2 separate regions of the Homo sapiens genome follow, and region 2 is linked to region 1. The links are contacts of gene promoters, found by promoter capture Hi-C in human tissues and cell types (Jung and others, 2019). All regions are on one chromosome and are shown on one strand. Each heading gives the region's core, a stretch centred on a gene start or on the middle of the fragment in contact. The rest is flanking DNA. Distances are from core to core; before and after follow the strand shown.

What was found. Contacts are between HindIII fragments. The study calls those that stand out against the background at their distance.
Region 2: a contact is called between a fragment that was not itself captured here and the fragment with the promoter of FBXO27 in region 1, in 2 of the 25 tissues and cell types used here (H1 embryonic stem cells and mesendoderm cells).

The regions. Positions count from the first base shown.
Region 1 is chr19:39,029,447-39,035,202 of GRCh38, forward strand. FBXO27 (F-box protein 27) reads right to left here and starts at 3,103. Exons shown (of 6, transcript NM_178820.5): 1 at 3,057-3,103; 2 at 2,418-2,807; 3 at 1,763-1,874; 4 at 1,583-1,678. The coding sequence starts at 2,781. RefSeq lists enhancers at 1,682-1,791, 2,198-2,990 and silencers at 1,900-2,082, 1,932-2,171, 2,322-2,401, 2,602-2,751, 2,812-2,881. The HindIII fragment of the contact is 13,585 bases long and covers 1,619-5,756 here.
Region 2 is chr19:39,113,238-39,118,993 of GRCh38, forward strand. No RefSeq gene overlaps it. Among named protein-coding and RNA genes, the nearest start is that of PAK4, 9.7 kb to the right of the region's middle. The HindIII fragment of the contact is 4,790 bases long and covers 212-5,001 here.

The DNA.
Region 1 (5,756 bases), core at 1,853-4,352:
TGAATTTGCTAAGGCCCCAAATTTCCAATGGCCACTTTGCCTGGCTCCCCAGTAGTCCTTACATCTGGGGACCACACCTTAGTGAGGGGCTTTTTTCCTATAAAACTAGAGAAGGGGGACACTGAGAAAGAGATTGGGGAACGAGAATCATATGATACTTCCCACACAGATGTAACCTATAGCAGATTAATTGTGTAATAGGGGGCTCATGGCTGTAGTGGACCTGGAATTTGACTCCCATAAAACCATCTGGGTCATATATCCCCTGGAAAGTCTTCATGCACCCCAGTTTCAAGACCATCACTACAGAGGACAAGCTCTGGAGTCAGAATCTGACTCTGAGCCTTATGCCAGGTTCTGCCAAGCCCAGGCTGTGTGACCAGACCAGGGCAAGTCATCTCCCCTTTCTTTTTTTGATGGAGTCTCGCTCTGTTGCCCAGGCTGGAGTGCAGTGGTGCCATCTCAGCTCACTGCAACCTCCACTTCCCGGGTTCAAGTGATTCTCCTGCCTCAGCCTCCTGAGTAGCTGGGACTACAGACACTTACCATGACGCCCAGCTAATTTTTTGTATTTTTAGTAGAGATGGGTTTTGCCATGCTGGCCAGGCTGGTCTCGAACTCCTTAGCTCAAGAGATCTGCCCACCTCGGCCTCCCAGAGTGCTGGGATTACAGGCATGAGCCACCGTGCCCAGACTGCCATCTCCCCTTTCCCAACCTCTCAATTTCCTGAGAAGCTCTGAATGATCTGAGGGCTTGAAATACACCTTCCCACAGGATCAAGGTTCAAAAAAAGGTGCTCACATAAAGTACTTGCTATGTGTTTGCCATATAATAATTGTCATTGCAAGAGCCCTATCTTGTAAACAGGGGAAACAGAGGTATGCTGTGACTTGCCCAAGGCTACAAAGCCACAGAGCTAGGGTTTGAATCTGGGAGGTCTGGCTCCAGAACCTAAGCTCTTGGCTAACTATGCTGTTTTCTCCTCCTAAGGCAAGGAGCATCTCATTCATTCACAGACAAGACTGAGCTGGGCCAAAGGTCTCTGTACTGGATCTCATCTTCTGTCTTCCAATCCACATCCTTTTGGGCATGAGCAGAAAGTGTGTACTCTGCTAATTACTAGAACTGTGAGTGTGTTTTTCACTTCACCTCCCTGAACTTCAGTTTCTTTTCTTTCTTTTTTTTTTCCAGGACTGAGTCTCACTCTGTCGTCCAGGCTGGAGTGTAGTGGTACAACCTCCACCTCCTGGGTTCAAGTGATTCTCCTGCCTCAGCCTCCCAAGTATGTGGGACTACAGGTGTGCACTACCAGGCCCGGCTAATTTTTTTTTTGTATTTTTAGTAGAGACGAGGTTTTGCCATGCTGGTTGGGCTGGTCTCGAACTCCTGACCTCAAGTGATCTGCCTGCCTCGACCCCCCAAAGTGCTGGGATTATAGGTGTGAGCCACCATGGCTGGCCTGAACTTCAGATTTTTTATCTGTAAGGAGGGGTTAGGAGGCCTAAATTAAGTCACCCATAAAAAGGCCATGTCACATGCAGTCAGTGCTTAGCAAGGGGCTATTTTAATCGTCACACTCACCAGTCAGAGACACAAATCTCAATCCTGCCACTATCCAGCAGTTCTGGCCACAGACCCTCCTCCTCTAGGTCCAAGACCTGCTTCTTGCAACACCAGCTGGGAATGCAGGAGACAGGGTAATGAGAACAGGCAGGCCTTTCTCAACAAGGGGCCGGACCTTTGGATAGCAGGGGCATTCACCTGAATGAAGTCACGAAGCACGTCTGAGAAGGGGCCCCAGGCACGGTTGTCCTGTTTTCCTCCACCACCCAGCCGTCCCCACCGTGTTGCACCATCCACTTTCGGAGGCCTTCTGTGAAATAAAAAAGGCTTGTGCCCAAGTTCCAGTCGCCCGCCTGTTGGTTCCTAGTGAGACCCCGCCCCTAGCCCCTCCCACGTGCTCACAGTGCAGCTCACTCACCTGACCCTTCCCACCGAGGCCCCGCCCCCTTCCCCTCCCACCAGCTCAGGGCAAAGCCCCGCTCCTCTGGCCCTTCTCACTGATTTGCAGCAAAGCCCTGCCCCTCCAACCCCTCTCTCGGGCTCCCAGAACTGCCCCACTCCCACCCCTCCCACAGGCAAACGGTGAAGCCCTGCCCAGTCAGCCCTGCACCCTGCGTGCCAATGCTGCCTCGTCCCTCCGACACCTCCCACCGGCTCCCAATGCTGCCCCGCCCCTCCGGCACCTCACACCGGCTCCCAATGCTGCCCCGCCTCTCCGACTCCTCCCACCGGTCCCACTGCGGCCCTGCCCCTGCGGCCCCTAGTACCGGTCCCAGTGCGGCCCCGCCCCTCCGGCCCCGCTACCGCTCCCACTGTGGCCCAGCATCCTGGACTTCCTCTTCCGAGATCCCACCTTGGCCGCAGGGGTTGCGAATAAGGTTGCGTCCGATGGGTCTGCGCGCGCAGAAGCGGCCCAGGGGGCAAGGCCTGGCGTTACGGGCGGGAGACTGGCAGCTGCGGGCGAGGTGCAGCAGCGCGCGGCCGGTGGCGCCGTGGTCGCGGGCCAGGATCAGCAGCCACAGGGCCTGGCCGTCCACCAGGGCTCGCCAGCCCCGGCACACTTGGCGGCAGCGCCCGAGCAGCGTGCGCGGGGGGACGTGGCTCAGCACCACCAGAAGCAGCTCTGGGGGTAGTTGGCTCAGGTCCAGCGCCTCTTCGGGTTCCGGCTCCGGCGCGGGGACCCGGGCGGCCCGGCCCCTGGAGACCGAGGCGCCCATGGTCCCCCCGCCAGGCCCGGCTGTGGCTGCGGGAGAGGAAGGGTCAAGGCGTCAGGGACCAGCAGCCTCCGCGGCGCGCAGCCTCTGCCTGCCCTGATTCTGCCAGCCGCACCCCCGTCTTCACCATCCCTGGGCCCCGTCCCCAAGTCCCCATCCCCCAGCCCGTCCTTGATAGCCCCGATATCCCGGAGACCCCGCGGTCTGTGTGTATGCCCCGAATTGCATGCAATCAGCCCCCCTCGGCGGCCGCACCGACACCGCACCCCAAGTCCTACCCCGGGGCCTGGCGGCGCTCCTCGCCGGGATGCCCTAGCTGTGCCGCAAGCTCCCCACGCCCCTCTGCGTCCTTTTTACTCGCCGGCCCCTCCCCTCTTACTAGCCAGCTTCACCCACCCCTGCATCCTCTTTCTTACTCGCCAGCCCCTCCCGCCTGCTCCCTCCCGCTCTCCAAACCCAACCTGCTTCCCGCGACGGGGCCAGGTGCAGCCAGGAGCCAAGGCCTGCTGCTCACAGCCGTCCCCTCCAGCCGGCCCCTTGAAGTGTCCCTAATTCGTTAGTAGCAATGAGACGTCTGGCTCTGAGCAACCATTGTTATTTTGGTCAGGCTTCTGAGTGGGAGGCCTCGTATCCGTTAACGTGTTAAAAAATTTCCATCACCTTTAAGGTCGGGCGTGGTTATCTTCATTTCACAGGAGAAAACAGGCTCCGGCTGCTAAAAATTAATGCAACCAATAGTAACACCAGCCAACTTTTATGGACGGTTTTACTGCCAGCCAGGGTGGCAACCCCATGAAGTAGGTGCTGTTATGCCCTTTACTTCACAGGTGAAAAAACTGAGACCAGCAGAGGCCAAGTGGCTTGTCTATGATCACCAGCTAGTAGGGATTTGAATCCAGCCAGCCTAGCTCCGGAATTCCTCATTTTAACCTCTAGATCAGCTCTGTCCAATAAAAATACAATTGTGGCTGGGTGCGGTGACTCATGCCCGTAATCCCAGCACTTTGGGAGGCCAAGGCAGGCGGATCGCTTGAGGTCAGAAGTTCGAGACCAGCCTGGCCAACATGGTGAAACCCCGTCTCTACTAAAAATACAAAAATTAGCTGGGCGTGGTAGCACGCGCCTGTAATCCCAGCTAATTTGGAGGCTTAGGCAGGAGAATTGCTTGAATCCGGGAGGGGGAGGTTGCAGTGAGCAGAGATTGCACCACTGCACTCCAGCCTGTGCAAAAGAGTGAGTGAGACTCCGTCTCAAAAAACAAACAGAAAAAAAAAATTGTGAAAGTTGATCATGTGAATTGGATCCTTCTTGTCATATCCAACTAAAACAAAGTTGAGAGGCCGGGGGGAAAACACTTAGGGCAGATACCATTGCTCCAAGAAAGTGATTCTCTGCAAGCCTGGCTGTTAAAACTGCCTGTTGTAACCTGGAAGCAGTCTAACTGGTACTGAAAAAACCTGCCGTGACTCTAAGACTAGTTTTTCCCTCTGCTGTCACTTACCAGTCAGAACTTGCCAGCTCCCCAGAACGTTGCTAGTGTCAATGAACTTTCTTGCAAAACAATACCTAACATTTCTGTTTCTTATAAAAACCTCTAACCTCTTTGTTCTTTGAAAGTTCTGAAGACCGCCTGGTCTGTGTGGATGCCTCGAATGTCAATTCTTGCTTCCCAAATAAAACATTTTATTATTTTTTTGAGACAGAGTCTCGCTCTGTCGCCCAGGCTGGAGGGCAGTGATGCAATCTCGTCTCACTGCAACCTCCGCCTCATGGGTTCAAGCGATTCTCCTGCCTCAGCCTCCCGAGTAGCTGGGATTACAGGCGCATGCCACCATGCCCAGCTAATTTTTGTATTTTTAGTAGAGACGGGGTTTCACCATGTTGGCCAGGATGGTCTCAAACTCCCGACCTCAGGTGATCTGCCCGCCTCAGCCTCCCAAAGTGCTGGGATCGCAGGCATGAGCCACCGCAACAAAACATTTTAAATCGAGAGATTTGTCTCTATATCTCTATATTTTATTTGGCTTCGACATAACGTGAGCTGTATACATAGTTTAAGACATCAACAAACAAAACCAGACATGGATTCTTCCCCACAAAGAACTTACCTTCTAGAGGGAGAGACATGATAAACAGTTGGCATAATGAGCAAATTACGTAGTATCAGGGAAATAATTAAATATAAAACCTCCAGGCCGGGCATGATGGCTCACGCCTGTAATCCCAGAACTTTGGGAGGCTGAGGCAGGCGGATCACTTGAGGTCAGGAGTGTGAGACCAGCCTGGCCAAAATGGCGAAACTCCGTCTCTACTGAAAATACAAAAATTAGCCGGGCATGGTGGCGCATGCCTGTGATCCCAGCTACTCGGGAAGCTGAGGCATGAGAATCACTTCAACAAGGGAGGCAGAGGTTGCAGTGAGCTGAGACCTCACCACTGCACTCCAGCCTAGGCGACAGAGTGAGAAGCTGTCTTAAATAAATAAAATAAATAAAACCTCCTTTTGACCCTCTTAGAATCCTCTCCACAAATGCAGAAAAGAATTAAATGGGTCCTGGCATGGGGGCTCACACCTGTAATCCCAGCACTTTGGGAGGCCGAGGCAGGAGGATCTCTTGAGCCCAGGAGTTTGAGACCAGCGCTGGCAACACAGTGAAACCCCGTCTCTACAAAAAATTTAAAAAGTAGCTGCAAATAGTGGTGTGCACCTGTAGTCTCAGCTACTTGGGAGGCTGAGGTGGGAGGATGGCTTGAGCCTGGGAGGTTGAGGCTGCAGTGAGCTGTGATCATGCCACTGCACTTCAGCCTGGGCTACACATCGAGACCCTGTCTCAAAAAAAAAAAAAAAAAAAAAAGAAAAAGAAAAAGAAAACAAGTAAAAAAAAGAATGAAACGGTTGTATTAGTGTATACACTTCAAACTAGCCTGTAATGTGCTTCTGTCATGATGAACAGTAAACATAATAAGTGTGTGTGTGT
Region 2 (5,756 bases), core at 1,357-3,856, 83 kb after region 1:
GACTCTCTACGCTTTTGGCACCCCCAAAGCCCCCACCCTGGTCCTGTCTACACTCATTTCCTACAGACTCCTTGGACTTCCTGCTCCCTCCTTTTCCCGGGAGTCTGTTCCCCACACACAACCAAAGGCACCTGTGAACACCTGCATCAGATCACATCCGCCCCTGCTCAGAGCCCTCCTGTGGCTCCGTCTCAGGTCCACGAGGCCCCAGACGATCTGCCCCTGTCACCCCTGTGTCCTCACCCCCTCCAATCACCCCCCTCGCCCACTCTGCTGCAGCCACACTGGCCTCTGCATTGGACTCCCCACCCACTTTTGCACTGGCAGTTCCCTCTGCCGGGGACACTGTTCCCCCAGGGATCTGTATGACTCCCTTTATCCCCCCCTCAGGCCTTTGCTCAGTGCCACCCTCCCTGACCCTCTTGTTTAAAACAGCTCCACCTAACCGGAGGTCATCAGGTTCGGTGAAATAAGCCAGGCACAGAAAGACAAACCTCGCATGGTCTCACTCATTTGTGGGAGCTAAAAATCAAAACGATGTCATGGACACGGCGAGTTAGAAGGATGGTGACCAGAGGCTGGGAAGGGTGCTGGGAGGCTGCAGGGGATGGGCTTTTTTTGTTTTTGTTTTTGTTTTTTGAGACGGAGTCTTGCTTTTTCGCCCATGCTGGAATGTAAGGGTGAGATACCGGCTCACTGCAAACTCTGCCTCCTGGGTTCAAGCAATTCTCCTGCCTCAGCCTCCTGAGTATCTGGGATTACAGGCACCCGCCACCACACCTGACTAATTTTTATATTTTTAGCAGAGACAGGGTTTCACCATGTTGGCCATGCTGGTCTCGAACTCCTGATCTCAAATGATCCGCCCGCCTCGGCCTTCCAAAATGCTGGGATTACAGGCGTGAGCCACTGCACCCAGCCTCGGTTTTGTTAATGGGCTAAAAAAAAAAGAATGAATAAGACCTACTATTTGATCACACAACAAGATGACTATTCTCAATAATAATTGTACATTTTTAAATAACCAAAAGAGTGTAATTGGGTTGTAACACAAAGGATAAATGCTTGAGGGGATGGATACCCCATGCCTGTATCAAAATATCTCATGTACCCCATAAATACATACACTTACTATGGACCCAACAAAAATTAAAACCTAAGGCTGGGCACTGTGGCTTATACCTGCAACCCCAGCACTTTGGGAGGCCGAGGTGGGAGGATCACTTGAAGTCAGGAGTTTGAGACCAGCCTGGCCAACATGGTGAAACTCCGTCTCTAGCAAAAATACAATTAGCTGGGCGTGGTGATGTGCACCTGTGGTCCAGCTACTCAGGAGGCTGAGGTGGGAAAATCGCTGGAGTCCGGGAAGTTGAGGCTGCAATGAGCCAAGATCGCACCACTGCACGCCAGCCTGGATGACAGAGTGATATCCTGTCTCAAAAGTAAAAAAAAAATTAAATAAATTCTTAAAAAAGTAATAATTAATAATAAAATAAAACAGCTTTACCCTCCATACACCTCCCATCTCCCTTCTCTGCTTTATATTCCTTCAAGACACTGAGGGCTGGGAGCGATGGTTCATGCCTATAATCCCAGCACTTTGGGAGGCCAAGGTGGGCGGGTCACCTGAGGTCAAGGAGATCAAGACCAACCGGAGGTCATCGGGCTGGCCAACATGGTGAAACCCCGTCTCTAGTAAAAATACAAATTTAGCTGGGTGTGGTCATGCACACCTGTAATCCCAGCTACTTGGGAAGCTGAGGCAGGAGAATTGCTTGAACCTGGGAGGCAGAGGTTGCAGTGATTCAAGATAGCACCACCTGCACTCCAGCCTGGGTGACAGAGCAAGATTCCATCTCAAAAAAAAAAAAAAAAAGCATTTAGATCTTGTGACCCACTATATACATACATGTTTGATTATTTTTTTCCTTTTCTCCCCCAAGAGAATGTGAGCTCCCTGGACAACAGGGTTTTTTTGTTTGTTTGTTTTTTGCCAGTTCTGTCCCCTGCTGTTACCTTGGTCACTGGTATATAGTAGGTGCTCAATAAACATGGTTTACGTGGAAGAAAGAAGGAATGAGAAATAAAGGTAAGCTTAGCACAGGGCCTGGCACTGAGGGATGCTTATCAGTAGGAATGACAGTGACTTAGGTGACTCAGATAAAGGCTCAGCCCTCGGGAGCTCCCCGTGGCTGGGTGCGCAGCAGACAGGCACGCAGGACTGGTTGCAACACCTGCCCTGTGTGACGTGCACAGGAAGTTGCAGGTTGCAGGGCCAGAGACCCTGAAGCTTCTGAGAGGCGAAGCTGAGCAAGGTCTTTTTTTTTTTTTTTTTTTTTGAGACAGGGTCTCACTGTGCCGCCCAGGTTGGAGTGCAGTGGTGCAATCATGGCTCACTGCAGCCTTGGCCTCCCCAGGCTCAAATGATCCTCCCACTTCAGCCTCCCGAGTTTCTGGAACTACTAGGCGTGCCACCATACCCAGCTAATTTTTGTATTTTTTGTAGAGATGGGGTCTTGTTATGGTGCCCAGGCTGGCCTCCAACTCCTGGACTCAAGCAATCAGCCAGCCTTGACCTTCCAAAGTGTTGGGATTATAGGCGTGAGCCACCACGTCCCCCGCCACAAGGCTTTCAAAGGCCGCACAGATGCCTACGCTGCAGGCTGGGGTTGGGAGGTAGCGGGTGGTCCCAGAAAGGGAAGCAGGGCCACGGGGAGAGCTCATGGGAAGGCTGGGGGATCCATGGGGCTCTGGATTCATTCATCAATAAGTATTTATTTATTAAACTCCTTTGTTGCTCAAATCAGCCAGAAGTGGTTTCTGTTGATGGCAACTGAGAACCATGAAAGAAACATTGACCCCCTGTGAAGGGAAAACCTTTGAAACTGTGTTTTTTCTCTGCTCTCACACCACAACGGCCAGGTGCGGTGGCTCACACCTGTAATCCCAGCACTTTGGGAGGCCGAGGCAGGCGGATCACTTGAGGCCAGGAGTTGGAGACCAGCCTGGCCAACATGGTGAAAACCCATCTCTTCTAAAAATACAAAAATTAGCCAGGTGTGGTGGCAGGTGCCTGTAATCCCAGGTACTCGGGAGGCTGAGGCAGGAGAATCCCTTGAACCCGGGAGGCAGAGGTTGCTGTGAGCCGAGATCGCACCACTGCACTCCAGCCTGGGCAACAGAGCAAGACTCTATCTCAAAAAACAAAACAAAACGAAACACCACAACAACAATCATCAACATAGACTGTGATCAAACGCAGGGGGCGGGTTCTTCCACAGACCAGGCAGCAGACACCAGCTGGGTGTCCTCCAACTCATTTCTGACACCATCTACCCAAAGACGGCCTCAGATCCCACAGGTTGAGGGTTCAGTCCCACACACTGCTCCCTCCCTCCCCAGCCGCATGTCTGGGTCTCCGGAACTTCTGACTGGCCAGCTTCAAGTTAGGGTTTCCACGACCCCCTCTTGGGGTTCGATTTATTTGCTAGAGCGGCTCACAGAACTCAGGGAAACAGTTACATTTGCAGGTTTATGACTAAGGATATTTTAATGAAGAGATGCATAGGGTGAGCATAGCAGCTTCTGTCCCCATGGAGTTGGGGCGCACCACCCTCCCAGCACCTGGATGAGTTCTTCTTTTATTCTTATTTTTTGAGATGGAGTGTTTCACTCTTGTTGTCCAGGCTAGAGTGCAGTGGTGCAATTTTGGCTCACTGCAACCTCTGCTTCCTGGGTTCAAGCGATTCTCCTGCCTCAGCCTCCCAAGTAGCTGGGATCACAGGTACCTGCCACCACACCTGGCTAATTTTTGTATTTTCAGTAGAGACGGGGTTTCACCATGTTGGCTAGGCTGGTCTTGAACTCCTGACCTCAGGTAATCCACCCAACTTGGCCTCCCAAAGTGCTGGGATTATAGGTGTGACCGACTGCACCTGGCCTATTTTTATTTTATTTTTTGAGACAGCGTCTTGCTCTGTTGCCCAGGCTGGAGTGCAGTGGTGCAATTACAGCTCACTGCAGCCTCAACGTCCAGGGCTCAAGCAATCCTCCTGCCTCAGCCTCCCAAGTAACTGGGACCACAGGTGAGTTCCACCATGCCCGGTTAATTTTCTAAATTTTTTTTTTTTTTGTAGAGACAGCGGTGTGGGGCGAGGGGTAGGGGACGGGTCTTGCTGTGTTTCCCAGGCTGGTCTTGAACTCCTGGGCTCAGGTGACCCTCCTGCCTCCCAAAGTGCTGGGATTCCAGGCGTGAGCCACCACGCCCGGCCTGCATCTTATATTTTTATTGGCTAAATTTGGCCATCCTAAGATTGAGCAAGGGGGACATGGAGGGAGATGAGAATAGAGCATGTGGAGTGGGCAAAAAGTTGAGAAGGAGACTCGCAGATCCTACAAACACAGCCAAAGAGACAAACCTCTTGGAAGTTTTTTGCAAGGGCTTCTGTTATATGGGCTCCCTCCTTGGACAGGAGTCCCTCCTCCCAGCCCCTTCCTCCCTCCAGATCTTCAGTGCTTCTTTTCAGCAAATTTTAAAAATGGTAATAGTTTTATTTTATTTCAGGTGAGAAAGCAACACACTCATTGCTAAAAATATATAAACTCAAACCATGCAAAAAAGAATAAAGCAGACACAAACATGATAGTTATGTGAGGTAATGCATATGTTAATTAGCTAGAGTTAGTCATCCCAAAATGTATATATACTTCAAACATCGTGTTGTACACGTTAAATACATACACTTTTATCTGTTAATTTTTAAAAAGAGGGCTGAAATCCCACCACTTTGGGAGACCAAGGCAGGAGGATCGCTTGAGGCCAGGAGTTCAAGACCAGCATAGGCAACAAAGTGAGACACTCTCCCCGTCCTTGCTACCTAGCTAGCTAAATAAAAAAGAAATAATAAAATAAAATAAAAAGAATGTAGGCCAGGCGCGGTGGCTCACTCCTGTAATCCCAGCACTTTGGGAGGCTGACAAGGGCAGATCACCTGAAGTTACAAGTTCGAGATCAGTCTGGCCAACATGGTAAAATCCCGTCTCTACTAAAAATACAAAAAGAAATTAGCCAGGCATGGTGGTGTGCACCTGTAATCCCAGCTGCTCTGGAAGCTGAGGCAGAAGAATCACTTGAACCCGGGTGGTGGAGGTTGCAGTGAGCCTAGATTGCGCCACTGCACTCTAGCCTGATGAGAGAGAGAGTCCGTCTCCAAAAAAAAAAAAAAAACACAACATATTTATATGGCCTTTTGTTAAAATTGATAAACCAATATTGATATATTATTATTAACTAAAATCTAAATTTTATTCTACTGCATTTTAAAAACATTTTAATATAACTCTATTGAGATATAATTTTTTTTTTTTGAGACGGAGTCTCGCTCTGTTGCCCAGGCTGGAGTGCAGTGGCGAGATCTCGGCTCATTGCAAGCTCCACCTCTTGATTCATGCCATTCTCCTGCCTCAGCCTCCTGAGTAGCTGGGACTACAGGCACCCGCCACCACACCCAGCTAATTTTTTGTATTTTTAGTAGAGATGGGGTTTCACCGTGCTAGCCAGGATGGTCTCAATCTCCTCACCTCGTGATCCGTCTGCCTCGTTCTCCCAAAGTGCTGGGATTATAGGCGTGAGCCACTGCGCCCGGCCTTTTTTTTTTTTTTTTTTTTGAGACAGGGTCTCACTCTGTCACCCAGGCTGGAGTGCAGTGGTGTAATCTAGCTCACTGCAACCTCTGCCTCCCGGGTTCAAGTGATTC